Regions from separate parts of the Homo sapiens genome. Here all the other regions are linked to region 3. The links are contacts of gene promoters, found by promoter capture Hi-C in human tissues and cell types (Jung and others, 2019). All regions are on one chromosome and are shown on one strand. Each heading gives the region's core, a stretch centred on a gene start or on the middle of the fragment in contact. The rest is flanking DNA. Distances are from core to core; before and after follow the strand shown.

Region 1 (3,318 bases), core at 1-2,500, 340 kb before region 3:
GGACCAGTGAGGCGCAGGCGCGAGCTCCCCAGGGGGAGGATGAGGGGCGGGTGCGAGGAGAAGCTTTCGAAGATGTCCCCTGTGAGGCCGAAGGCGGCGCGGTTAGAGTCTGAAAGTGGGAGTGAGGTAGTTGCATCGGGAAGAGCCGAGGCTGCGTCACACCCAAAGGAAGAAAAAAACTACAAACCCCAGCAACTCCTGGGGCGGGGTCCGTTCACACGCTACTCTAGGAGCCCCTGGGCATGATGGAAGTTGTAGTTCAGACGATGGAAGGCCACCGTTGCCTGGGAAACGGCTTCCCAAATCCCCGAGAAAGGGCTGGGAACTTGCCTTACAGATTCCTAAAGGTGGAGGAGTCAAGTTCAGGGGAGTGAAAGTCCCGAGACCTGGACTCCTAGGGGTGGTGGGTGGGTGGCTGGTGGAGGGAATGGACTAGGGATGCGAACCCCAGAGAATAAAGGGAGCTGGGGGCTTGAACTCCTGTATCTTGACGGGGGAAGGGGCTGGGTCCTGCACTTATGTCCTGGTGGGGAGGGACAGGGGTCCAGAATCTGGGGTTAGAAGGAGACTGGGGATCTGGACTCCAAGATCCTGAGAAAAGAAGAAAGGTGAGGTGGTTCACGCCTGTAATCCCAGCACTTTGGGAGGCCGAGGCGGGCGGATCACGAGGTCAGGAGTTCGAGACCAGCCTGGCCAACACGGTGAAACCCCCGTCTCTACTAAAGATACAAAAAATTAGCCAGGCGTGGTGGCGCATGCCTGTAATCCCAGCTACTCGGGAGGCTGAGGCAGGAGAATCGCTTGAACCCGGGAGGCAGAGGTTGCAGTGAGCCAAGATCGCGCCATTGCACTCCAGCCTGAGTGACAGGGCGAGACTCCGTCTCAAAAGAAGAAGAAAGCTGACAGCCCCAATGCTGTATCCCATTGCTCCTCACCTGTGTCCACAGCCTCCCGCTCTGCAGGGGGAGGGTCCCACGCGGCTGGCGGCCCGCGGCCAGGGCCCAGCTGATAGTGGCTGAGCAGATGGTGCAGCTGGGCGGGGGTCAAGGTGGGGTGGTCGGTTCTTAGGCTGCTCCATGAAGCCTGGTGGGAAGACCAGGTGAGAGGTTGATGGTCATTACGGGGCAGTTAAGAAATGAAATGGAAGGGCTTCCATAAGGGGAGTGGGTGTGGTGGGAAGATAATGGCATCTCTGCAGTGTCTTCTGGGCACTGTGAAGTCTGTTTATCACCAAAGTGATGGTGGGGAAGGGTGTGCTCCCAGCAATTTGTAAAAATGTGATGTGCCTCAGGATAATTGAGGATACAGGAAATGAGTAGGGTGGAAATAAATAAGATTGGCCATTCGTTTATATTATTGAATCTGGCGATGGTACTTGGGGATTTTTTTTTTTTTTTTTTTTTTTTGTCCTTAAAGAGACAGGGTCTCACTCCGTCGCCCAGGCTGGAGTGCAGTGGCTCGATCGTGGCTTGCTGCAGCCTCAAACTCCCGGCTCAAGTGATCCTGGGCTCAAGTGATCCTTGGCCCCAGCCTCCAGAGTAGCTGGGACTACAGGCACACGCCACCACACCTGGTTAAGTTTTTGTAGAGATGGGATCTCACTATGCTGCCCAGGCTGGTCTCAAGCTTCTCAAAGTTCTAGGATTACAGGCATGAGCCACTGCGCCCAGTTGGGATTCATTATTCTATGGCGGCCACTCTATATCTGTTTGACAATGTCTACACCTGATGTAGCTGACGTCAGAACCATCAATGTGCTTAACATCAGAGACTCCACCTAGACTGCCTGAGTTCAAAAATCCCAGGTGGGTCACTTATTACCTTCCGGCAGGTCACCGTCCCCTAGTCTCCTCATCCATAAATTTGGAGAACAGGAACTATCTAATAGAGTTGGTATGAGGATGCAATATGGCAAAATTGTAAAGTACTTGGAACACTGCCTGGGGCTTATTAAATGCATGGTAAACTTTCTTTCTTATTGTTTTGAGACAGGGTCTTGCTTTGTCACCCATGCTGGAGTACAGTGGCATGACTGTGGCTCACTGCAGCCTCAACCTCCTGGGCTCAAGCAGTCCTTCCACCTCTGCTTCTGGAGTGGCTGGGACCACAGACGTGTGCCTCCACACCTGGCTAATTTTTAAAATTTTTGGTAGAGATGGTGTCTCCCCTATGTTGCCAACTGGTGTCAAACTCCTGGGCTCAAGCGGTCCTTCCACCTCGGCCTCCCAAAATGCTGGCATTACAGGCATTAGCCACTACGCCCAGCCCATTATAAACATTTGATATAAATAAATAAATGTCTATGGGGAACAGTTTTTGTAAGATATTTAAGAAGAAAGGAAAATAAATAATTGAAATTGGCCGGCCATGGTGGCTCACGCCTGTAATCCCAGCACTTTGGGAGGCCGAGGCAGGCGCATCCCCTGAGGTCAGGAGTTCAAGACCAGTCTGCCCAACAAGGTGAAACCCTGTCTCTACCAAAATTACAAAAATTAGCCGGGTGTGGTGGCGCGTGCCTGTTATCCCGGCTACTCAGGAGGCTGTGGCAGGAGAATCGCTTGAACTCGGGAGGCGGAGGTTGGAGTGAGCCGAGATCATGCCATTGCACTCCAGCCTGGGTGACAGAGTGAGACTCCGTCTCAAAAAAAAAAAAAAAAAAAGGAAAAATAAGTGAAATCAAGCGACCTGTCCTACCTGATTCTGTTTCCTCATCCAAAAAACAGTCAGTCACCTACTTCGATGGGGCTTTGTCAGCATTAAACTAGAAGTGCTAAACAGGGTGCCTGGCAGGTAGTTCATGTTCAATGAATGTTTTAATCATCATGTTCCTTTGTCTCATACCACACTTTCTGACTCAGCATGTCTGAGTGAGGGACCCTGGAAACTTTTTTTTTTTTTTTTTTTCTGGAGACAGGGTCTCGCTCTGTCGCCCCGGCTGGAGTGCAATGGTGCAATCTTGGCTCACTGCAGCTTCTGCCTCCCAGGTTCCAGCGATTCTCCTCCCTCAGCCTCCAGAGTAACTGGGATTACAGGCGTGCGCCATCAAGCCTGGCTAATTTTTGTATTTTTAGTAGAGACAGCGTTTCGCCATGTTGGCCAGGCTGGTCTCAAACTCCTGGCCTCAAGTGATCCACCTACTTAGGCCTCCCAAAGTGTTGGGATTATAGGCGCGAGCCACTGCTCCTGGCCTGGAAACTATTTTTAATAAGTTCCACCAGGATTCAGACACAGCCGAGTTTAGTCATTGTTGGTGCTGGCTTCCTTCTACCTGCCAATGTGTTACCCACAGTGTCTGAGCTGGGGCTGGGGATGGCATGG
Region 2 (3,349 bases), core at 844-3,343, 380 kb after region 3:
CCCCCATGTCCTTGTTCCAAGTCACCCTGGGTGCAAGGAAGCTCCCCACCAGCTGTGGCATCACTCTTCTCAAGGAAGAGCTCTGTTCTAGGCTTGGGAGGGAGACTGACCTGGGTTCAAATCATGGGGCTCATACTCATCCACTGATCTCCCCAACCCCAGAATGGAGCCTCAGTTTCCCCATCTTTGTCTAGAGGATTAAATGAGATCAACCTGTTGTCTCTAATATGGGGTATTCCCCTCTCCCTCCAACCATCAGAGCAAACCCCAGGCATTGGAAGCAAATGCTTTTCTCTGCACAAACTCCCTGCTGATGGTCCTGGCCAGAGCCCGGGGGTCTCTGGGGACCCAAGAGGTAACTCAGAGAGTGAGAGCCAGAGAGATTGACTGTGAGAAACCCTAGCACAGATGAGAAACAGAGGCAGAGACTGAGGGAGGGGCCTGAGGAATACATCCCTCCCGCTGCCACCCCCCAGCCCCCTCCACCAGCACGTCTCTTTCTCTCTCTCTCATTCTCCTGACTTCACACTGATGTATTTTGAGAAACTCGTGAAAGGAGGCGAGAAAAAGGGTGGGGAGGGGCTGGAAAATTGGAAAAAGAAGGGGTGAGGTTATCTCAGCTTCCCCTCCACCACCAACCTCCGTCACTGCACCATCCTCCTGCCCACCTCCCCCCACTTCTGTCCAGCCTTATTCTTGTCTCTCATGTTACTAGAGGGTGGGGTAACTTTGGAGCTAAGAGGTGATCTGCAGCAAGCAAGACTGATGTTAGACTTAGCAAAGGACCCCCATGGCCTAGCGAGGTGGACTGAAGCTCAGCGAAACACAGGGTCAGGGCTGTGGGCCAAGGGGACAGGGCCTGAGGGCACGGCGGCAGGGGCATGGTGCTGATGAGGCCATCTCCTTCGTGCACTGTGGCCAGATATATTTTTAGGCTTTTCCGCAGCTGAGTAATTTATCTGACTTAGAGCCAAAGCTGGGGTTGGGGGTGAGAGCCTGTGGGGAGGTGTCCAGATTATCCTGAGGGACACTCGGTTCACTGGGGTCATCAACCTGGTTGGGAGGGAGTCCCTGTCAGCCCCAGCCTGTATCCTTTGGGAAGGCTGTCCTACCCCAGGAGCCGAAATTTTTGGCCTCTAACTCCTTTCTCTCCCAGGGACCCAGGGTGCTGTGACTTCTTCCACCCAGCCTCACCCCCTCAAGGACAACGGGCTATGAGCCCCAATCCGCTTTAGCTGCAGATTAAACTCCATGCCAGACAGAAACGGAAAAAGACACAGAGAGACGGAGAGACCCATGGTGGGAGAATTAAAACACAGAGACGGGGACAGGGACCCAGAGAAGTGGGGACCAGAGATCCAGGGAAGAGGAGAGACCCAGAAAGAGGGGGACAGAGACTCTGAGTCAGGAGTTGATAGAGATCCAGTGAGAGCAATGGCCAGAGAACCAGAGAGAGGGGCACAGAGACGCAAAGAAGCGGAGGCAGAGATCTAGGGAGAAGGAGGGGCCCAGAGAGAAGGGAGCCGAGATCTGGAAAAAGAGGGAGACGGAGACCCAGAGAGAAAAGGGGCAGAGACATCCAGAAAGAGACGGGGACAGAGACCCAGAAGTGGTGGGGGAGGAGCCAGAGACCCGGGAGAGAGGCATTTACAGCACCAGAGAGAGTGGAGCCGGGTGGGGTGGGGTGCAGAAAAAGGAACAGGATAATGGACAAGGCTCGACCAGGGAGAACAGCGCCGTCGGAGCCCACGGCAGAAAACTGGACAGATGGGTGGACCCCCATGCCGGGGTATCGCCCGTTCATCTGTCAGTCTGCGCCCAGGTGGGAATTAGCATCCTCCTCAGATCCTCCCACTCTTCTCCCGGGACCCCCGCCAGGCTCACCGGTGCAGCTTCCCGAGAGCACGACCCGCTAGCTTCCGAAACTCCTCCTGGCGGAACTCCATGGTGGCGGCTCCTGCCGCCGGTCACCCCGCGGGTCCCCCCCGCCGATCCCCCCGCCCGCGGGCCCGGGCGGCCGCGTCCGGGTTCCCGGGGTCCAGCCCCGGCCCGGCCGGCCCCGCAGCTCCGCTCGGGGGGAAGGAGGCTGCAAGTGCAGGCGGCCCGGGGGCTGTCACAGGACTCAGCGCCGGGGGCGGGGCGCGGGAGGCCCCGCCCCGGCCCCACCAGGCCCCTCCCCTCGTCTGTCAGACCCGCCCCCTCTCGCAGCCCTTTCATCCTCGTCCTGTCCCCTCCTGAGCCTTCCAAGACCACGCCTGTGGGTTCTGAACTCACGCCTCCGAGTTCACGCCCCCCAATTCTGTTCCTTCCCCAGGCTACTCCCCCTATCCCTGTTCCATCACCCCTGGCTCCTACCCAGATTTTCTCTCCTCTCCTGAGTTCTCATCCCCATCATTTCTCTCCCCGACTTCTGTTCCCCCTAATTGCGTCCCTTACAATCCTGTCTTCTCTGACTTTCCCTCTGCGTTCATCCTCCAGTTCCTTCACTCCTCCCCGCCCCCACCCCGCAATTCCATCCCCATCCCACCTCGTCCCCAGTTCCAATAGTCTCATCCAGGGAGTTCTTTGTTTTCTCATTCAAGGGAAATTCTTTCCCCTCAAGTCCAACGCCTACTTCGATCCACCTGTCGTCCCCCTCTAGTCCCTTTCGCCACCCGGGTTCTTCACCCTTGAGCTCCATCTCCTCCTTAGTTTCCATCTTTCCCCTTTGAATCCCATACTCCTCCAGCTCTATTCTCCCTCCGGCGTCTCTCTCCTCCCTGTTGCTTCTCTCCCTGAGTTTCATTCCCTAACCCCGATTTTCTTCCCTCTGGCTTCCGCCCCCCACAGTTATATTTCACACACCCCGCCAGTGCCAGCTGCGACCCCATAGTCTCCCCATTGTGTTATTTCTCTGCTCCTCTGGGATCTGTCCGCGCTCTGAGTTCTTCCCTAGCTCCGGGGGATCCATTCCTCTATTTGAGTTCTGTCTCCACCCCCTGAGATCTGTCCCGCCCCCTAAATTGTGATCCGCACCCCCTGGCATCCTCACCCGCCCTCTGAATTTGTCTCCTCCCCTAGGATCTGTCGCTGACCTGAGTTCTGCCCCCGCCCTCTGAGTTCTCTCCCCACCGTTGGAGTTGTGTCCCCTTCTCCTAGGATCTGTCCCTGGCTCTGTTCCCGCCCTCTCAGTTCTGTCCTTGCCCCCTGGAATCTGTTCCTGCCATCTGAGTTCTACCCCTTCCCCACAGGATCTATCTCTGCCCCCTGGAATCTGTCCCCACCCACCGAGTTCTGGCCTCCGTCCCTGGGATCTGTCCCCGCCCTCTGTGTTCTACCCCTGCCCCATGGGATCTGTCCCCGCCCACCC
Region 3 (3,559 bases), core at 1,010-3,509:
CGGCTCACCTGAGGTGAGGAGTTCCAGACCAGCTTGGTCAACATGGTGAAACCCCTTCTCTACTAAAAATACAGAATTACCCGGGTGTGGTGGCGCATGTCTGTAATCCCAGTTACTTGGGAGGCTGAGGCAGGGCAATCACTTGAACCCAGGAGGTGGAGGTTGTGGTGGGCTGAGATTGAACCATTGCACTCCAGCCTGGGCAACAAGAGCGAAACTCCGTCTTAAAAAACAATAATAATAATAAAATAAAAATAAAAATAATTCAACTACTATTACTTAACAGTAACAGATGTTGAAATACAGGCTCAGAGAAGTTAATGATTTGTGCCCGGTCACACAGCCAGCAAATGGCAGAGATGGGACTTCACCTCTGGGCAACTGCACTCTGCCGTCCTTCCTGTGCAACTCTGAGGAACCGACAGTCTTGCATCTTGGAGGATGTTCCAAACAATTTTTTTTTTTTGAGACAGAATCTCACTCTGTTGGCCAGGCTGGAGTACAGTGGCACAATCCTGGCTCACTGCAATGTCTGCCTCCTGGGTTCAAGTGATTCTCCTGCCTCAGCCTTCTGAGTAGGTGGGATTACAAGCACCTGCCACTGTGCCCAGCTAATTTTTGTATTTTTAATAGAGATGGGGTTTCACCATGTTGGCCAGACTGGTCTTGAACTCCCAACCTCAAGCAATAGTCGTGTCCTGGCCTCCCAAAGTGCTGGGATTACAAGCATAAGCCACCATGCCTGGTCCCAAACAAAATTTTTTTTTTTTTTTTTTTGAGATGGAATCTCCCTCTGTCGCCCAGGCTGGAGTGCAGTGGCACGATCTTGGCTCACTGCAAGCTCCGCCTCCCAAGTTCATGGCATTCTCCTGCCTCAGCCTCCTGAGTAGCTGGGACTACAGACTCAAGCCACCACGCCTGGCCACATTCCACAATTTAGAGAAAGGTCACAACCTGGAATCCTAGGGAGACCCCAGTTCACCTCAAAACTGCCACTAAGGAGGTAAAACGCTGCCCCTCTGAGGCAGGCTTCAGTTTCCCTGTGTGTGAAATTGACCTGGCGCTGGGAGAGGCTGGTGGAGGCGCGGATTTTGCAGTTTCCCTACAACATTCTGGAAGCCTGTGGTTCTGGGAAAGGGTGGCGTGGAGAAGACTGGGAAACAGTCAGTAGTTACCAGACCTGTCAGCACCTCCTCCGCCTCGGAGCTCTGGGGCTGGGAGTCCCCAGGCTTCGGGGGGCCCCTGTGGAGGACACAGGTGGCCCCCTCCTTCCTGACATCTCAGGAGAGGGAGGGGGCAACCACCTAGGGGAAGAAAAGAATAGACAGGTTATAGAGGCAGGTGGGGAAGGGGCCAAATCCCTGAACAACCCCTTCCCAGAGTTCCTCTTCAAGTGCAGGGTACCCAAGAGTCAAGGCCCCGCCCCCTTTCCAGAGGCCCCTTTTCTACCCAGGTGATGGCTCCTGGCTGGGATGGGAAGCAGATGGAGGGAGGGGAAGGGAGAATAGGGGAAGGGAGAGGCAGTGGATGAAGGAGGCTGGAAGAGATTACATCCCCCTCGGCCCATTCATCTCCCAGATGGGGCGGAACTGGCCTGGACACCCGGGTCCCTGAGGGCCCACACTCAAGAAGCCCTGGTTCCCCAAGCTGCTTCCTGGAATGTTCCCTCCTCACAGGACAGGCCAGGGCCCGCCCAAGACTTCTGCACATACCTGGAGTGGCTGCCTGCCCTGGCTCCTCGGTACAGGAAAGGGGAAGGGTGGAGAGTGAAAGGAGCCCAGGCTGACCCAACCAGGACCGCCTTCTCCCTCAGACCGAGTAGTGCAGACCCCAGGGCCTCCACCTTCAGACCCAGGAGTTCAGATCCCCAGCGCCCTCCTCCCTCAGACCCAGGAGTAGTCCAGGCCCCCAGCGCCCTCCTCTCTCAGACCCAGAAGTCCAGGCCCCCAGCACCCTTCTCCCTCAGACCCAGGAGGAGTCCAGGCCCAGGCCCCCAGCACCCTTCTCCCTCAGACCCTGGAGTCCAGGTCCCCAGCGCCCTCCTCCTTCAGACCCAGGAGTCCATGCCCCCAGCGCCCTTCTCCCTCAGACCCAGGAATCCAGGCCCCCAGTGCCCTCCTCTCTCAGACCCAGGAGTTCTGGAATTCAGGCCCCTCCTTCTCGGATACTAAGAAATGCAGACTCCGGGTTCCTCATCCTCCAGATTTGGGTTGGGGGTTCCGGACTCCGAGACCCCTCAGGGGAAACCGGCTGCATATCTGGGACACTTCCCTCTTGCCTCAGTTTCCTCCGCCAAGCCCCGCCCCGGTCGGCCCCGCCCCCGTCCCTCCCCACCCGAGGGCAGGGCGACCAGGACGCCGGAATCCCGAGGGAGGAGGAGTGGAGATCTTACCTGGGGCGCCCTCTTCGGCTCCCGCGGCTGCCCTCCGCCCGGCAGCAGCTCCTCCTCCTGCTCGCTGGCTGCAGGGACGCTCGCTGGCCCGCCGGGTGCTAGCTGCTCACGCTCCGCAGGGCCCGGGTCGGGGGCGGGGGCGGGGCGGCGCCGGGCGGCAGAGGAGGGGCCGGGGGATCCTGCCTTGCACTCGCGTGCCGGGACCTTGGAAGCCAGGCCTGGCTCGTTCAACGCGGCCGCCTTGGTCACAGGAGTCCCAGTTTCCAGCTGCCTCCTCCTTTGGACCTAGCAGTCCAGGCCCCCAGCCCCTCCTCCCTTCAGACCCAGGAGTCCAGGCATCCGGCCCCTCCTCCCTCAGACCCAGGACTTGCGACCCCAGCCACCTCTCCCCCCAGCCCCAGGCGCCTGAGTACTAAGCCCACAGTTCCCCCCACCACCTCCCAACCCCGCCCCGTCTCAGACTCAGGAGTCCAGCCCCCAGCCTCCTCCTCCATTAGCCCCAGGAGTCTGGGCCTGAGATTCCTTTGCCGTCTTTTGCCAATTGCGTGTCAATCCCGGGGCAGATTCCCACCCTCTGCTCTCCTCCCCACTTCCCAGGAGCTCCACGCCAGACATTAACCAGCTGGGCTTGGGCAGTGATAAGGCCCCAGGCCCGGGGAGACAGTGGATGTGGGGGCTCCCGCATACTCCTCTCCCCTGGAATTTCCTGGCTGGGGACCGGGGAGAAGGTCTTGTCCTGAGCTCAGATAAGAGACGTGCAAGGTATCATAGGACCAGAGATAGACAGATGTGTCTTAAGAACAATCAGCTACCTTGAGAAATGGTGCGCGGTGACATGAAGGGAGAGATAGGGAGAAGACATGGAAAAGTGGGGAGAGACCAAAAGAAAGAGGGGGACCGAGACTAGAGAGAGTGGGGGAGGGCAGGAGCCCAGAGAGAAGACAGAGGCCCAGAGAGCGTGAGGGCAGACCCCCCCACCCCCCCGAGAAGGGGACAGAGCCCCTGAGAGACCCTGAGAAAGACAGGGATGGGACCGGAGCCGGAGTGTCTCAGGACAGTCATGAGGGCAGCGGGGCTCCTCACCCCACCACACCTCTACCCTGAGACTCCGCTCCCCTCCGCCTGCGCTATTTTCAGAAGGAAAACTGACACCTGCCTCGAGGGTCA

What was found. Contacts are between HindIII fragments. The study calls those that stand out against the background at their distance.
Region 1: a fragment that was not itself captured here is called in contact with the fragment with the promoter of NTF4 in region 3 in 2 of the 25 tissues and cell types used here (lymphoblastoid cells and mesenchymal stem cells).
Region 2: the fragment with the promoter of SLC17A7 here is called in contact with the fragment with the promoter of NTF4 in region 3 in 2 of the 25 tissues and cell types used here (dorsolateral prefrontal cortex and liver).

What each region holds. Positions count from the first base shown.
Region 1 is chr19:48,720,919-48,724,236 of GRCh38, forward strand. RASIP1 (Ras interacting protein 1) reads right to left here. Exons shown (of 12, transcript NM_017805.3): 11 at 936-1,083; 12 at 1-79. Among named protein-coding and RNA genes, the nearest start is that of MAMSTR, 2.9 kb to the left of the region's middle. RefSeq lists enhancers at 1-393, 98-147 and a cis regulatory region at 1-130. The HindIII fragment of the contact is 3,220 bases long and covers 1-2,860 here.
Region 2 is chr19:49,439,434-49,442,782 of GRCh38, forward strand. It overlaps SLC17A7 (solute carrier family 17 member 7), which reads right to left and starts at 2,094. Exons shown (of 12, transcript NM_020309.4): 1 at 1,885-2,094. The coding sequence starts at 1,946. The HindIII fragment of the contact is 22,755 bases long and covers 1-3,349 here.
Region 3 is chr19:49,062,559-49,066,117 of GRCh38, forward strand. It overlaps NTF4 (neurotrophin 4), which reads right to left and starts at 2,260. Exons shown (of 2, transcript NM_006179.5): 1 at 1,181-2,260. The HindIII fragment of the contact is 9,200 bases long and covers 1,052-3,559 here.